2 separate regions of the Homo sapiens genome follow, and region 1 is linked to region 2. Evidence: promoter capture Hi-C in 16 types of primary human blood cells and fetal thymus (Javierre and others, 2016). All regions are on one chromosome and are shown on one strand. Each heading gives the region's core, a stretch centred on a gene start or on the middle of the fragment in contact. The rest is flanking DNA. Distances are from core to core; before and after follow the strand shown.

What was found. Contacts are between HindIII fragments. The CHiCAGO score rates a contact against its expected background, and 5 or more counts as called.
Region 1: a fragment that was not itself captured here is called in contact with the fragment with the promoter of RAB32 in region 2 in 2 of 17 cell types (monocytes and M2 macrophages); the score reaches 11.6 in monocytes.

Annotation. Positions count from the first base shown.
Region 1 is chr6:146,676,034-146,680,225 of GRCh38, forward strand. It overlaps ADGB (androglobin), which reads left to right. Exons shown (of 36, transcript NM_024694.4): 9 at 280-408. Among named protein-coding and RNA genes, the nearest start is that of ADGB, 79 kb to the left of the region's middle. The HindIII fragment of the contact is 6,306 bases long and covers 1-4,192 here.
Region 2 is chr6:146,541,630-146,545,451 of GRCh38, forward strand. It overlaps RAB32 (RAB32, member RAS oncogene family), which reads left to right and starts at 2,204. Exons shown (of 3, transcript NM_006834.5): 1 at 2,204-2,492. The coding sequence starts at 2,243. RefSeq lists a silencer at 1,778-2,157. The HindIII fragment of the contact is 5,944 bases long and covers 1-3,065 here.

The sequences.
Region 1 (4,192 bases), core at 124-2,623, 130 kb after region 2:
ATATATTCAAATAATTATCTCCATGAAACAAAATTATATACAGTAGATAAAAAGCAATGCTGTATTTATTTCATAATATATCTCAATTTTCAAAGTTCTCCCTGGCTTTATCATGGTGTTTCTAATTAGAGGGGATCATGTTTTGGAGAAATTATGGCATAATTTTACATTAAATAATACTATTATTTTGGCCTTTTTTCTTTAAGACAATGACTGAATAAGAAATATAGTTTGAGATTGTCTAGTTAAAATATTTATTGTGATTTTTTCATATGTTAGAGAAAGCAGATGCAAGAGACATTGGAAAGAAGAGAAGCAAAGATGGAGAAAAAGAAAAATTCAAATTCTCACTTCATGGTTCAAGACCCTCATCAGAAGTGCAGTACTCTGTGCAGTCCCTATCAGATTGTAAGCTCCTAATTTCTTAGAATAATAACTATTTTAGTTGTTTCTTAAAATGCTGGAAAACCTTGGAACATAGAAATACATTTTTTCTTTTGAAATAACTAAATAAACTTAGTCAAGGTTGCCATAAATGTTGGGTTCTCAGATGGGTGGGCGTGTTGGGCCAAGTCCTACCAATGACAGAAGCCTGTTGTCCAAATTACAGTGCAATTGTCACAGAAGAAGTATCCACATGTGGGAGAGGCTTCTGCTGGTCGCTTTCAGGTATTTCTCTAAAAAATACTCAGGTTGAATTTATCATCCAAATTAAGTAAATTCAAAGTTACTTGTTTGTGTGGTTAGATGCCAGCCACCAAATAAAACAAAAAGCCTACATCTGGCTCCTTGCTCACAGTGGGCCTCCAGCTCTTTTACTGTGTTTTAGAAAGTAACTGTGAGGCCGGAGACTCTGGAAGTCATTGTTTATATCACAATACTGACAACCACACTTTTTTGTGTATCGCATTGTGACTGGGTGGATGTACAAGAACTATTTATAATAGCCTCATTGTATAAAGGTCAACTATTTTTGTGAAAATGCTAGGGTTTCTCTATCACTTAAAATCACATTGGAGCTCTTTCATTTTAATTAATCTTTCCAATTTGGACTTACAAATTATTTCTAAAGACCCCTTGGCTACCGCATTTTTGTCCTGTGTACCAGCTAAAACAGTCTAGGTATAAGTAGCCTTTAAACAAATTGTATCAGGTTGAAAGAAAACAAGCTGTAAAAAAATGATACCGCAACCTATTCAGGAGGTTATCAGGAGGAAGACTAGAGTGTCTCTTTTGAGTCTCAGCTTTGGCTCATCTATCTTGGTGCTTCCAGAGTGCAGGTTATCATTTTCACCTCATCCTTTATTAGCTAGTCAAAAATATGTGTTTTTACATCTAGTAGTGTGCCTTATTAATAAATTTTTATCTTTTTTCTTATTATGATGATTTATATGAGGACATTTTAATAATTATGGCTTTTTATTTTTACTGAAACATGTCTAGTGATGTGGATAGAAAAAAGTCACTATTGTATTTTTAATTCTACATTAAAAATCATTTTCTTATATTGATGCCTTAAGCAATATTTTTTGATAGTGAGAAACATTACATTAGCAGATTTACTGATGGTTCTTCATCTTTGTGAAAATGGCTAAAACTTTCTGAGAGTTCTTTCTTTGTGAAAATAAAAGTAATGATGCCTTCCTTCTCCTGCTGAACTTACAGTTAAGGTCATTCCAACACATAGAATGTGGTTCAGTTTGGACTGTGGAGTCAAGCTGGTTGAGTTCAATATCTGCTCCAACACTGAGTGTATAAGTATCAGGCAAGTGATAGAGCCTCTTTAAACTCAGGATCTCTATAAATCAGCATTATTGTTTTGGTGAGGGTCCTTGTGAGAATCAAGTGTTGAATCCAGGTAAAGTGCTTAGCACTTGTTGGTAGAGCTACATTTTAGCATATTTATTGCAAAAGCCTTTGTTAATTCTTACATGTGCTAAAGATACAGTGTTAGAATGAACTCTATTGGAGTCCTTTATCTGGCATAAATATGAGGGTGGCCATGTGAACTTCCTTCTCCCACAGAGTTAAATCTAAGTGCATTTCTGATGGTGTTATAATTCATTTCCTTCAATCAGCTGCTTTGGTTTCACTTGTAAAGGAGATAATGGATAGACAGTAAGTGTTCAAGAGGTAATTGAGTGACAATTCAAACTCATATGGAAAATATAACATGACATTTATATTGTTTGTTTGTTTATTTGTTTATTTGACACAGAGTCTTGCTGTGTCGCCCAGGCTGGAGTGCAGTGGTGCAATCTCAGCTCACTGCAATCTCCACCTCCCAGGTTCAAGCGATTCTTGTGCCTCAACCTCCCAAGTAGCTGGGACTGCAGGCGCATGCCATTACACTTGGCTAATTCTTGTATTTTTAGTAGAGACAGAGCTTCATCATGTTGGCCAGACTGGTCTCAAACTCCTGACCTCAAGTGATCCACCCACCTTGGCCTCCCAAAGTGCTGGGACTATAGGCATGTGTCACCACGCTCTGTCTATATTGTTTATTGATGATTTGATATTAGAGGTGTTGTAGTTAATTCTGATAAGTCACTGAAAATCTAATATAAAGAACCCCTGTTTTATTAATTTTTTCAAAGTAGCATATTTATGACAACGGTCATTACAATAAAATGACGCTCACAGTTTTAAACGCCAAGGAGATTTAGTTTTATAATGGCAGAAGACATGTAGAGATTTATATATATTTACATGTCATCTAATATTATCCAATGCATATCCTAATAATGACTTGACATTTAAGATTTCATTTTGTTATTTTCAAAATAAGTGTATTCATTTAGGTACACTAGCTGGTATGACTAACAAATGATTCTAATGTCATATATATTTCTTTCTCAATTAAAATAAAAAGACTAGTGTTAATCACTGGCAGGAAGTTATTTTCTAAATGGCATTGAAGAGACCCATTCTCCTTCCATTTTATGCCTCTTCTACCTCTAGCATTCTAAAGTTCTATACCAGTGGGAAGAAAAGAGCTTGGAGGATTGCAGGAGCAAGATGTCTGAAATCAAAACAAGCTGTATTGTATATCACTTCTGGTCTCATTCTATTGAAGACAATTCAGTCCAATGGCCACACCTGACTTTAAGAGGAGTTGGAAATATGGAATGTGACGTGCTAAAGATCGCTCATTTCAGGAGAAAGAGGAAACCATTTGGTGAACAATGATCAATCTTTACCACATTCCACTTTCCTGATCACCAGATACCCCTTTCACTCTTCTTCTCACATATATGTTCAATACGTACCAAGAGTCCCAGTCTAAATTATTATCTAGTAATTTCATCTAGTTAAAATATCCAGGATCTCCAAGTCATGTACATGCACACACATGCTTACAGATACACCCATAAGTATCCATTCACATCTCTCATCTACTCTTGAAGAGGAACACAGTAACTGCGATATAAACTCCACTCATAAAACAAAATAGCAGGGGACACACTGTAGTCACTCATCATTCGCAATTCTAAAATTTGGCTGAGAAAGTCCTGTTAAGACCTTTTTCCTGGCATAAAGGGGAAGTTCTTTGGCACTGATTCTGCTCTCTTGGAGGAACTCCAAATTATAAAGTGTAAAGTGGGTTCATAAACCCACAGTCTTACTCCAGAGTTCACACAACTACTATGTTTTCTCTCCTCTCGATATCTATGAATACTAATATTTTAAACTGTAAAACTTATTGAAAACTTTTTTCTCTAAATAACTACATTGAAAATGTAGCTTAAAAAGAAACCTTGATGCAAATAATGACATTAATTACAAATACCGAAGTTCTATAAGAATGAATAAATCATACCCTTCCAATATTTGAGAAAAAATGATTATGAGAAATATTAGAGATTTGAGTTTTGCCAGTAACTTATTAACTATAGGGTAAGTTAGAATTTGTGTAGTACTCTAGTATAGAGTTCAGTATCATAGTAACTTTAAAAAATTGTTTCAAAAAAGCAAAAATCAATAACATTAGAATATGACTCAGTGGAATAGTAAGTTGGATATTTTCTGACTGTGAGAAAAACTGCTAGCTTTTCACAATTTCCTCCTCTTTCTAGGAACACAGTTTTGCTATATTTTCCCAGCCTCTTTTAAGTGAGATGTGGCCTTCTGTATAATTTCTAGCCCACAGGATGTGAAGCAAAGCGATACATACCAGCTGTAGACTGACCTA
Region 2 (3,822 bases), core at 954-3,453:
GGGAAGTAAAGTAAGATGGCTTCAGAGTCCCTGTGTCTTCTTTCTCAAACTCCTTCCATAATTTAAATGCTAAAGCATGATAAGGTTTTTAATAGACTATTTTGTTGTGTGTGTGTGTATATATATATATATCTATATCTAAGGTATACGGCATGATGCTTTGATATACATAGTGAAATAGTTACTAGAGTTAAGCAAATTAACAAATTAACATGTCCATCATCTCACATAGTTACACAATTTTTTCTTTTCATTTTTTCTTTTCTTTTTTTTTTTTTTTTTTTTTGAGATGGTCTCACTCTGTCGCCCAGGTGGAATACAGTGGTGCGATTAAGCTCACTGAAGCCTGGACCTCCCAGGCTCAGGTAGTCGTCCCACCTCAGTCTTCTGGGTAGCTGGGACTACAGGTGGGTGCCACCACACCTGGCTGCAATTTTTTTTTAATGGTAACAGCACTTACAGTCTACTCTCTTAGCAAATTTCCAGTTTAAAATACAATATTATTAACTATAACGCTCATGCTACATTAGATCATTAGGACTCATTCATCCTATATAACTGCAACTTTGTACACTTTGACCTGCATCATTCCGTTTCTTCCCTGCCCCTGGTAACCACCACTGTTTCCACGTATTCCGTGTGTGTGTGTGTGTGTGTGTGTGTGTTTAAGATTCCACATATAAGTGATATTGCACAGTATCTTTCTTTTTGTGTCTGGCTTATTTCGCTTAGCATAATGTCCTCCAGGTTTATCCATGTTGTTGCAAATGTCAGGATCGCCTTCTAAAGGCTGAATGATATTCCATTGTGTGTGTGTGTGCGTCTGTGTATATGCGCGCGTGCATGCCTATGTATGTATTACAATTTCTTTATCCATTCATCGTTAACAGACACTTTGGTTGTTTCCAAATCTTCGCAACTGTGAATAATGCTGCATGAACTTGAGAGCGATTTCTGAGATCCTGATTTCATTTCCTTTGAGTATACACCCAGAAGAGGGATAGCTGGGTCACTGGCTTTAGCAACGATTTTTGCAATATCACACCAAAAGCCCAGGCAACCAAAGCAAACCTAGATAAATGGGACTTCATCCAACTAAAATGCTTCTGCACCGCATAGGAAATAATCAACAAAATGAAAAAACAGCCTATAGATTGGGAGAAAATATTTGTGAGCCATATATCTGATAAGGGGTTAATATCCAAAATACATTACGTTCACAGAACTCAGCCAAAATAAATAAATAAAACACCCAGTTAACTAACGGGCAAAGGATGTGAATGGACTTTTTTTTTTTTTCCAGAGGAAGTACAAATTGCCAACAGGTATAAGAAAAGGCGCTCAAAATCACTAATGAACAGGGAAAAGCCACTAGGTATCTCCTCACACCTGCTAGGATGACTGTTATAAAAAAGATAAGCGATAATAAGTGTCGGTGATGTGCGGAGCAAAGGGAACCTTGTACACTGGTGGTGGGAATGCGGACTGGAACAGCCATTATGGAAAACCCTACGGAGGTTCACTCAAAAAGTTAAAAACAGAACTACCAGCCCAGTGTTATCCGTCCTTCGTTAAGTTCAAAGTCACGGTGCCACTTCCTTTCCCATCTAAAGGGGACTGCTCGCGACCCAAGCCAAGGCCCGCAAGTGTGGCTCTCCCTGCGGGGAGAGTAGGGCAGGAGGTGGATTTCCAGGCCAGAGGCTTCCAGGCTGGGCCCGGACCCCACGCCGACCCCGGCCCCGGGGGGGGCTCAGCGACCTCGGCGCCTCCTCAGGCCCCCAGTGAACCTCCGGGGCCCATAAAGGCTCCAGGCCGGCTCCCCGGAGGCCCACCAGCGGGCGTCTGGGCCTCCCTCCGCGCCGCGACCGCCAGGAGGCGCCGCCCGGGAGAGGAAGTCCAGCTGGGCCCGGCCGGGCTTCGGAGGCGCCGCCCGGGAGAGGAAGTCCAGTTGGGCCCGGCCGGGCTTCAGAGGCGCAGGGCGGGAGCCGCCTCGCGCAGGGTCCTCCCCAAGCCGGCGCCAGGCCCTGCCCTCGTCCGGCCCTGCCCTCGTCTGGCCCCGCCCGGGCCGCGAGCACTGGCGGGTTCTGGGTCCTGTGACCGGTCAGGCGGCGTCAGCGGGCGCGGCGGAGGGCTGGCCGGCCTCGGGGGAGTTTCCGCGGCCGCCGGGGGCGCGGCGGCAGAGCGCGAGGCCGGGCAGGGGGCCAGACTCGGAGTCGAGGCGCGCCCGACAGCCGCAGCGCTCATGGCGGGCGGAGGAGCCGGGGACCCCGGCCTGGGGGCGGCCGCCGCCCCAGCGCCCGAGACCCGCGAGCACCTCTTCAAGGTGCTGGTGATCGGCGAGCTTGGCGTGGGCAAGACCAGCATCATCAAGCGCTACGTCCACCAGCTCTTCTCCCAGCACTACCGGGCCACCATCGGGGTGGACTTCGCCCTCAAGGTCCTCAACTGGGACAGCAGGACTCTGGTGCGCCTGCAGCTGTGGGACATCGCGGGTAAGCGCGGCCGCGAGTTTCCCACTCCAGAGCCCCGCCGGGCCGCCTGGCTCCTCTCTGCTTCTTTTCTTTTTCTTTTCTGCCTGAACTCGTCTGCCTGGGTACCTTTAGGAGAAGAGAGAGGCCCAATCCAAGGGCGAGATGCGATGGACGCGGTCGGCTGGACTCGGTGGGGCCCAGAGGATGGGATGGGCAGTAGGAGTTGGAGCAGGTCCTGCACGCCAGAGCTCGCTCTCCTGAAGGGAGGCGAGGAGGCCAGGGGGCCTTTTCCAGAAGTTTGAACTCTGAATAATGCAAGTATATCATACATACACCAGGACTAGTTGAGAAGGCTGCTTTGGAGCGGGCCGGCGCCTCTCAGCCTCAACTCAAGTTCAGAGGGATTGGGTGACTTAACCCGAAGCTGCACTCCTAGTTAGTGACACCACCAAGACCAAAAGCCAGGTTCCTTTCCAGATCATTTTCCACCACCCGCCTTGGCTCTGAGACTGGCCTTTGTGAGGGAAACTCCATTCCTCAAATACTTTGCTCTCATCGGAAGCCGAGGACAGACACTCCGTGAAGATTTGGGAAAGCTTTTCTGAAACCTTACACTCACCCCTTCCTCTCTTGCTAAACCAACACCTAGTCCCATCCCTGGTGCCCTCGCCCCCCCCCGCCCCCCCCCCACTCCTCAATACAGTGTTTCTCTGCCATTTGCTTTCATTTGTTCTGTTTGAGGGGGTACATTTCCCTCTGCTCTGATTTATGAACACTTGAACTTTGCCTGGTGTGGTGGTTGGGAGTGGGCGTTTTAAAGATGATGTTAACTATTGGAAAGTTCATAGAAATGGTACCAAGCCAAGTGCCAGTGGCTCACGCCTGTAATCCCAGCACTTTGGAAGGCCTAGACTGGAGGATCGCATGAGCACAGGAGTTCGAGACCAGCCTGGGCTGTTAGTGAGACCCTGTCTCTACAAAATACATACATACATATATACATACATACATACAAAAAATTAGACAAGTGTGGTCGTGCGTGCCTGTAGTCCCAGCTACTCAGGAGCCTGAGGCAGGAGGATCACTTGACCCTAGGAGAGGTCAAGGCTTCAGTGAGCTGTGTTCTCACTGCTGTACTCCAGCCTGGTCAACAGAGTGAGACCCTATCTCAGAAAAAAAAAAAAAAAGTACGAAAATTACTCTGTTCAATCATTACAGGTGTTAAGAAGCACAGTCTGCAGTACAGCATTAGAATGGGAGCTGGTTTAGGGTTAGAGGACACCTGAGGCCACCCTTCATTCTACAGTCCCTACACTGAAGCCCATGGAGGGTATAGCTACCTGGCTGGTAG